Regions from separate parts of the Homo sapiens genome. Here regions 1 and 3 are each linked to region 2. Evidence: promoter capture Hi-C in human tissues and cell types (Jung and others, 2019). All regions are on one chromosome and are shown on one strand. Each heading gives the region's core, a stretch centred on a gene start or on the middle of the fragment in contact. The rest is flanking DNA. Distances are from core to core; before and after follow the strand shown. Region 1 holds the start of PLEKHO2 (pleckstrin homology domain containing O2). Region 2 holds the start of ZNF609 (zinc finger protein 609). Region 3 holds the start of PIF1 (PIF1 5'-to-3' DNA helicase).

The links. Contacts are between HindIII fragments. The study calls those that stand out against the background at their distance.
Region 1: a contact is called between the fragment with the promoter of PLEKHO2 here and the fragment with the promoter of ZNF609 in region 2, in 2 of the 25 tissues and cell types used here (IMR-90 fibroblasts and adrenal gland).
Region 3: the fragment with the promoter of PIF1 here is called in contact with the fragment with the promoter of ZNF609 in region 2 in 3 of the 25 tissues and cell types used here (IMR-90 fibroblasts, dorsolateral prefrontal cortex and spleen).

What each region holds. Positions count from the first base shown.
Region 1 is chr15:64,840,530-64,843,229 of GRCh38, reverse strand. PLEKHO2 (pleckstrin homology domain containing O2) reads right to left here and starts at 1,315. Exons shown (of 6, transcript NM_025201.5): 1 at 1,202-1,315. The coding sequence starts at 1,213. It also overlaps a transcript of LOC124903508 not described here. RefSeq lists enhancers at 108-659, 692-1,215 and silencers at 1,023-1,462, 1,473-1,792. The HindIII fragment of the contact is 9,878 bases long and covers 1-2,700 here.
Region 2 is chr15:64,459,299-64,462,132 of GRCh38, reverse strand. It overlaps ZNF609 (zinc finger protein 609), which reads right to left and starts at 1,555. Exons shown (of 10, transcript NM_015042.2): 1 at 1,295-1,555. LOC105370861 (a long non-coding RNA gene) reads left to right here and starts at 1,546. Exons shown (of 3, transcript XR_932367.3): 1 at 1,546-1,634. RefSeq lists silencers at 1,224-1,323, 1,384-1,503 and an enhancer at 1,964-2,033. The HindIII fragment of the contact is 20,496 bases long and covers 1-2,834 here.
Region 3 is chr15:64,824,397-64,827,420 of GRCh38, reverse strand. PIF1 (PIF1 5'-to-3' DNA helicase) reads left to right here and starts at 1,774. Exons shown (of 13, transcript NM_001286496.2): 1 at 1,774-1,852. RefSeq lists enhancers at 1,512-1,641, 2,831-3,024. The HindIII fragment of the contact is 20,575 bases long and covers 1-3,024 here.

The DNA.
Region 1 (2,700 bases), core at 66-2,565, 380 kb before region 2:
AGGCTGAGAGGGGAAGTGACTTATCTACCATCCCACAGAAAGGCAGGGCCTGGCCTAGAGGGAGCCCTGACGGACCACTAGCTGCTCCTATCCATGGCCCTGGAAAAGTGGGAGGTGGGCACTGAAGGGACACAGGCAGTCCGGTCCACTCAGGGCTTCCCAGCTGGCCAGGGTTCCCCCAAGGCAGAGAACTTCATCTTTCCTCCCCATCCAAGGAGGCAAAGACATGCCCCTTCCCTTGGGCTGAGAGGGGCTGAAGCTGGGACCCCCTCAGGGGATAAGAAACAAATTCACCTTCCTCTAGACCCAACAGGCCCCTCATTTTAACTTAATCATTCCACAGGCATATATTAAGTGCTTGCTGCGTGCTGGACCCTCGGATAAAGCGGCTGCTGGCAGAACTGAGTTTGCAAGTAAAGGGCAGGGGCAGGGGCAAGACCCAATCCCAGGCCAAGAGTGTTTTGAGTGGTTAGAAGGAGGCTCCAGGGACACAGTTGGTCCAGCCCTCGGGTGGGGAAGGCAGGGACTAAGATCAGACCCTAGGTGGGCCGGACTCCCGATTCCTTCCCTACAGCTAGCTGCTCAGATGGATGTGGAGCGGGGAGAGAGTGGGGGAAAAGATACAGAGACTTATACAAGGGAGAAAAAAGCAACTTCTCCAATCCTCCTGCCACCAAAGCATGGTCACATCCTTGAGACAGGAACCCCCCAACACACACATACACACACACACAGAGTCAGGATCCGATCCTTGAGACAGGAACCCCCCAACACACACATACACACACACACACAGTCAGGATCCGACACACACACACACACACACACACACACACACAGAGAGAGAGAGAGAGTCAGGATCCGACCACGGTAATCGGGGTTCGAGCCCAGTCACCCAGGCCACTTTCAGCAAGTCATCAATCTCGCTGGAGTCTCAGTCTCCTGGTCAATCCAATGGGAACGGTAACAACCACGACGCCCCACAACTGGTGAGAAAGTCAGCGAGAATGAAGGAGGACGCGGTCTGCGAAGTCCCCGATATGGATCCAGCCCCTCGCCCCTGCCCCATTTGCCCAGGCTCTTCCTGAGGTGAGACTGGCGGGAGTGGGGCGGGCAGGAACGAGGGCCTGAGCCCAGGACCGCAATCCCCGTGAGGGGCTCGAGGACCCCAGCCCAACGCCCCGCCGGGCCCCGCCCTCACCTCCTCCTCCATGGCGAGTCCGCCGAGGTCCCGCCGCTCCGCCACTCGCTTCCAGCGCCGCGCGGGCTCTGCCACCGCGTCTACGCCCGGCCAGGCGGCGACTCTCCGCGTTCTGTCCCGCCGGCTGCCGGGGGCCCAAGAAACTTCGGGGGGGCGGGGCCGGGGGCGGGGTGAGGCTTCCGGGGGCCGGGGCGGGGCCGGGGAGGGGGCGGTGGGGCCGGGGGCCCGGCCCAGGGCGGGAAATGGGTGGGGAGGGGCGGGGCCTGGGTTGGAGACTGGACGGAGGAGCCGGGCGGAGATGCAACTGGAGGAAGAGGGCGGGACGGGGCGGAGAAGGTTTCCCGCATCGGCGGAGGGAGAGGGACTAGGAGGGGGCTGCGGCGGGGGAGGAGAGGGGGCTTCCGGCCCAGAGACTGAGGCGAGGGTGGCGGGAGCGGCGCGCAGGCAGGGCTGGGGTGGGGCGCACACAGTGAGCGCTGGGGGCGCTGGCGGTGGAGCCTTTGAGGTCTCCCGAACCAGTGGGCTGGGGTTGCGAGACCGAGCCGAGCTGCCCTGGGCGGCCAGAGATGTGGGCACACAGAGGCTCCTCCTCTTTCCTCCCCGACGCCGGGCAGTGGGCGGTGGCCTGGTCTTCTCCCTGGAACCTCTGGGCGGGGCCGGGCCTGGAGCTTGGGTCTCTGTCCGGAGGGTGGTGTCACAGGAAGAGCTGGAGCTGAGAGTCGGGACTCCGGGGTCCCTTTAGGGGGCGGCCCGCCCCTGGCTCTCAGGGGTCTCCAAGCGCAGTGTTCTCCTGCTCTCCTTGGGCATCGCTCAATCCCTCCCGTATCTGAGGGTCGACCATCCCCCCGATCCCGCGGTGAGCTTGCAGCCCTGACAGCCTTACTGGAGAGTGGGAGTGTGGGGACCAGCAGAGAGTAATGATTTTAGTTATACCATGCGCCCTCATTTTACATTGGAGAAACTGAGGCCCAGAGAGAGAAAGTAACTGGCTGCATCGCAGCCTGCAGCACCGCTCCCCTCTCACACACACACGCATACTCCCCCTTAGCTCTCCTGGTCAACCCCGTCCCATGCCAAGGAAGGGAAAATTAAGTGCATGTGAGATCAATGGTGACCTTCTTCGGCTCTGGCTGCCATAGCAGCGGCTGTGCCAGCGACCAAGCTCCCCTTTCACGGCCTTCTGCCAGCCCTCAGGCTCCCAGGCTACTTCCAGCCCTGTACGGAAAAGGGCAGCCTGGGGCTCCCAGGCCAAGGGGGAAGGAGATGCAGGTACACTTCTCCCTCATGCCTAGGCCTGGGATCCTTTAGCTAAAGGAATGAAGAAAATTGAGGCTGATATTATCACACTGGTCAAGAAAAAGAAAGAATAGAAAAGAAAGAGAGAGGAAGGAGAGAGAGAGGAAGGAGGGAGGGAAGGAAGGAAAAAAGGAAAGAAAGAAAAAGAAAAGAAAGAGAAATGAAGGAAGGAAAGAAAGAAAAGAAACAAGGAAGGAGAGAGG
Region 2 (2,834 bases), core at 306-2,805:
GAAGAAAATGGCACTGAGGAGCCTGGGAGATGGAGCATATCCAAAGCTCTCAGACAAGACTTGAACCTATGACCTTCACTGTGTACACAATAGGCGGGTGAGAGGGACCGGTTTATCTCTGCTGCAGCAGTTCTCAGCCCTGGGGTAGCGCTCCCGATAAAATGACACGACTATTGTGTGTGGCAGCAGAACAGTCATCTCCTCACAACAGCCTAAACCAGCACTCCCTCCCCCAAGACAAAGCAGCAGGGGTGAAATTAACTCAAGGCTGCAGAGCAAAGCCTAATACAGAAAAGGGAGGCCTGTAGGGGCTTGGGGACTCTCCTCAACCCCTTAGGCTCTGGACACATGGCTGGAAACAGACAGGCTTTCTTCCCTATCTTTCTCACTCTCATTTAGGTAGGGAGCTGTTTCTTAGAGAATTTAATCATCCGTGATTTGTTCAGAAATATTCCCCCTGAAGGGCTCTGATCTCTCCACCCTGTGTGAGCCTAATTCCTCGAAGCTGAAATGACTGTTTGCTGCTGCCTGTTTCACAAACACACATTAATTGGTCAGATGTGTCTCCTCCTCCTCAACCCCAGAGGGAGGAAGGAGAATCTGAGCAAAGCACAGAGATGATCCAACCGTAATTACACATAAAGGGAAAAGAGGGCAGCATGGGTTTTCCAAACAGGATAGGGTCACAAACCCTCCCGGGGGTACAAGGATAGCAGTTGAGGTCCAGGCCCAGGGATCCCTCCATCTTGAAGAAAAGGACAGGAGTAAATGTGACCTGAAGACTGTTAGGGGCACACACCCACAACCTACTTACTGCAGGATCCCAGCCACCTTGCTCCCCACTCCTAGGTCACGCACACGTCCTGCTTCCGACCCTATGCTCTGAACAACCACCACCGCCCCCGCCCCCCCTCCCCCGCCAACTCCCTGACTGGCCCCAGTCGCCCCGAGCGCCCTCAACATACCCAGACTCGCCTCAGAAACTCTCTGGCCTGCTCCCATAACCTAGCCAGACCCTAATCCCCTCCCGGGCACCCCTACCCTCAGCCTGAACCGGCCGTGGCCACGCTTTGAACTTCACCCCGCGCCCCTCGACGCCCCCTCCCCCACCCACGCAACGACCCCCCCTACACACCTTCCCCTCGCTCCGCCCCAGCCCCCCCAACCCCCACTTCCTCCGTCAGGCAGCGCCGCCGCCCCCGGCCCCCATCAGATCCCCTCAGCCCCGCGCCCCATCGGTGCCGCCGCCTCTTTCCTCCCCCAGTCCCGGCTCCACACAAAGCTCCGGACTCACCGCGCGGCCGGTCCCGGGAGCCGCCACCTCCGCCCGCCCGGGGCCCCGGGCCGTAGAGCCGCCGCTGCTACGGGGCCCAGGCCGCCATCCGTTCCCGCGGCCCCTCCCCCCCACCCCACCCCGGCTCCGGCTCCGGCTCCGGCTCTGGCTCTCTGCCCCCTCCCCGCGCCTCTCCGCCCCGCCCGGCCGGTGCCGCTGTGTCCGGGGCCGCGGGTCCCTCAGCCGCCGCCACCGCCGCCGCCGCCGCGATCCGGGACAACCAGAGTCACCCGGAAGACGCGGACACTGGACTGCCAGGCCCTCGGATCCGGATTCCGCGCTTGTGTGGAGTCTGGAGCCGGTGAGCGCAGGGGAAACCCGGAACCTGGATGAAGGAGCGAAATCCTGGGTCTCGGAATGCGCGCTCACCCGGAGCCCAGATTAGGGAGTCTTAGCTCAGGGAATGCTGGAAAACCCGGCGTGCCGGTTAGAACCAAGATAAACTCAAAGAAACCTGGATTAGAGAGCTCGAACCTAACGCTGTCCCCTCGTGGGCAGTAGAACTCTCGCTGGATCAGACTTCCTCATAGAGAGGTCTCTGGGGGGAGTATTGCACCTTATAACACAGAAGACACCTCTTCTGTAGTTGTCCTTCAACCACAGAGAGGAAAGGGCCGTAGGGGATCTGAACATGGGCATCCACAAAGAACAGAAGAGCAATCACAGCTCCTGATGGTTTCATCCATTTTACCCCTTAGTTCAGCAAAGTACCAACCTCCTAATTTTTTATCCTTTGTTCTCCAGCTTTCTCTTTTAGGATTACCACTTGCTTTTCTCCCCAAAGCACCCATTTCTAATCCCTCTATATATCCCTTTTCCCCTCACCATCCTCTATCACTAAATCTTGTTGCCTTTTATTATCTAAAAACCTTATTCTGTCCTTCTCCAACCCACCATTCTAAGGATTGTAGCTTTTATTTTTCCTTATCTGCTATTCATCTCTGATTGCCCAGCATACTATCTAGTGCACAGTAGGCATTCAGTCCATGTTTAAGTGAGCCCTCCCACCCAGCTTTCACTTGTGAAACATCTATTCATGACGACCTCCTAAGACTTCCATCTCATTCCATAGCAAACAAATTTACCTTAATTCTCAAGGCCTCCCACATCCTAGCCCCTATTATGTCCTTCCTGTGTCCTTGACCATTTTATTTTGCTTTGCATTTATCTTACCTTTTTTCCCTTATCCTGGGGCATCCTTCAACAGTGCCACTCAAGATAGCATGTGACTTGGAGATAAAGTGAGGTCATAAAAAGGTGGGGGGAGGGGTTGATAGCTAAAGATAAAAGTAAACCTTTCTGGTCTAGGAAAAATAATCTCTCTTTGGTCCACCAATAGTCATGTTGTTAGACAGTACAGGGGCAGAACTGATCCCAGGTGACAGCGAACTTCCAATGTATACTAGACAAAGTTACAAGTGAGGATTCAGCTACTTAGCAGGTGGAGACAGAGAAGGGTTTAGTGTTTTAGACTTAGGCATGATTTAATTAAGGATTAAAC
Region 3 (3,024 bases), core at 525-3,024, 370 kb before region 2:
CGGCACGATCCAGGCTCACTGTATCTTCTGCCTCCTGGATTCAAGTGATTCTCATGCCTCAGCCTCCCAAGCAGCTGGGATTACAGATGTCCACGACGACACCCGGCAATTTTTGTATTTTTAGTAGAGACAGGGTTTCACCATGTTGGTCAGGGTGGTCTGGAACTGCTGACCTCAAGTGATCCCCCCACCTCGGCCTCCCAAAGTGCTGGGATTACAGGCGTGAGCCACCGCGCCTAGCCGTACTTTCGTTTTCAAAAAATTCCTGCTTTTGTTCTTTTGTTGCTTCATTCTTTCTTTGCTTTGATGGGCATTTTGTCCAATTCTTTGTTCAAAACGCCAAGAACCTGGACAACTTTCAGTCATCACCCTCTACCGCTAACAGACTGGGAGCAGTGTGGTGTAGTAGCTAAGCCCCATGGAGTGATTAAGCGAGCAGGTAATCTGGGTTCAATGTTTGGTTTTGCTCTCCATATCAGCTATGTGACCTTCAGTAAAATCTCTGGAAGCCTTGCTTTTTTCTCATTTGAAAAATAAGGTCCGGGCTCATGCCTGTAATCCTAGGACTTCGGGAGGCCACGGTGGGTGGATCGTTTGACCTCCGGAGTTCGAGACAAGCCTGGGAAACATGGTGACATCCCGTCTATACGAAAAAAAAATTATATATATATATGTGTGTGTATATATATATATGTGTGTGTATATATATATGTGTGTGTATATATATGTGTGTGTATATATGTGTGTGTGTGTGTATATATATATATATATATATATATATATATATATATATATAAATTAGCTGGGTGTGCATCTGTAGTTCCAGCTACCTGGGGGGCTGAGGCGGGAGGATCACCAGAGCCCAGGAGGCGGAGGTTGCAGTGAGCCACGATCGCGCCACGGCAGAGGTTGCAGTGAGCAGAGATTGTGCCACTGCACTCCACTACAGCCTGGGCGACAGAGTGAGCCCTAAGAAGGAAAAAGGAAAGGAAAGGGCAATTTAATCCATGGTAGTTATCATTATCTGTAAAATGAGGTAGCCAGACTCACCTGTAAGATCCTTTCCAGCTATGTAATTCCAAGCTTCAATGAGATAATAAAGATGATTAAAAGTAAATTCTTTCAGCATCCTGTGCAAGAAGAGGGATACAATTTCCCTGAAGACAGAGACTCTACTCGCTTCCGCTGTACCCTCTGGCACGTGGCACAGGTCTCAGAGTTTCTCACTCATGGGCCTCAGGTGGGTGAGAGAGCCAAAGCGTAAAGTCCCTTACAAAGGCAGAGAAGGATGTAGAGTTGGGGGCGGGGGAGGGATTGGGCAGGCCTTGGGGTGGTCTGCCCAGAACTGGACAATGGTACTGTGAGTGTAAACAGGGGTGTGAGAGTCCAAAGGCAGATCTTCCCCAAGGCTAAGCCCAGCCTCTGTGTGCGGGCTAGAGGGGAGAGGGAGTGTGCTGGAAGGATGGTTCTGAAAATAAATCTTCGGAGTCGCGTAGGGTTTTCAGACCCGACACCACGCGCCGCCGGGTGGCTGCCGCAGCGGCGGCCTCCTCCCACCACGCCCAGCCGTCCACTGGATTTGGTATGCTCAGCCACCACCATAAACCTCCTTCCTCTAGCAGGCAATTGGTACAGCCCAAGCTCCTGGAGTAGAGACGCAAAGAAAGACACGCCCATTGTTACGCCCCTACCTCTGAGTGGCTGGAGAATTTAAAGATCCAGTCGGTGATTGGGTGATTTTCTGCCTCTAGCATTTGAAAAATTTCTAGTTTCGGAGCTTAGCCACAGGCCGGCTACGATCTGCTTGTTCATCTGAGTGTCGGCACAAGTGAGTGTCTGCCCGAACCCAGAGGTGGGGAGCAAAGAGCCTGATTTATCTAGGGGTTTCCGGCGGGAGGGTGCAAACAAATGGGTCAGCCTGAGGGAGCACGGCTTCTAGGGTCCCAGGGTCCCCCGCGATTTCCCTAGCCGAATATTTTCCACCTCGTCCCCACCTTGGTGGTGGGAAGCGCGAGGGCATGGGAATCACACTGACTTTGACTACTAGCCGCTGTGGCTTATGAAGGGCAAGTGAGTTTCCCTCTCTTAGCCTGTTTCCACGTCTGTACACGGGGAAGAGTGAGACCTGCCCGCTGCATATAAGCCAGTGAATGTACCTACAAGGCAGAAGTCGCTTATTACACGGCAGCCCTCTTTGCATCTCCCCACGGGCGATTCTCCTGCTTCCTGGGGAGAGTACTCTGAGGATTCATGTGCTCGCCCTGGGTCTCGGGGAAGGAGGATTCTTTCTGCGCAGGGACCCCTGTTCTAGTGAGGTCCTTGCAGGACACCTGAGGCTCCCTAATCCTCGGTGCCCATCCGCCGCTCTGGAAATTGTTGTGTAGCACGGTGTGTGTGTATATGTGTGTGTGTGTGTGTGTGTATATATATAGAAATTGTATATATATTGTGTGTATATATATATAGAAATTGGATATATAGAAATGGAAATTGTGTAGCAGGGTGCGTGTGTGTATATATATATATACATATATATACACACACACACACACATATATATAATGTATGCATATGTATGTATTTATATGTATGTATTTTTTTTTTAATTAGAGGGTGTCGCTATGTTGCCCAGGATGGTCTCGAGTTCCTGGGCTCAAGCGATCTTCCTTCTTCAGCCTCCCAAAGTGCTGGAATTACAAGCGCCCGCCACCACGCCCGGCTAATTTTTGTATTTTTAGTAGAGACGAGGTTTCACCATGTTGGCCAGGCTGGTCTCAGAACTCCTAACTTCAGGTGATCCGCCCACTTTAGCCTCCCAAAGTGCTGGGATTAAAGCGCGAGCCACTGCGCCCGGCCCAGGGCATATTCTAAGGGTGGATTTTCGGTTAGCCCAAAGCCCTTTCTCCGTCTTTGTGACCTCTTTGTGTTACCAGTGACAGTCCTCGTGATCTTGTGTAGCCTTGACCCTGCTCCCTGTCACGTCCTTTATAGCACCCATTACGTCCCCTATAGCACCCATTACGT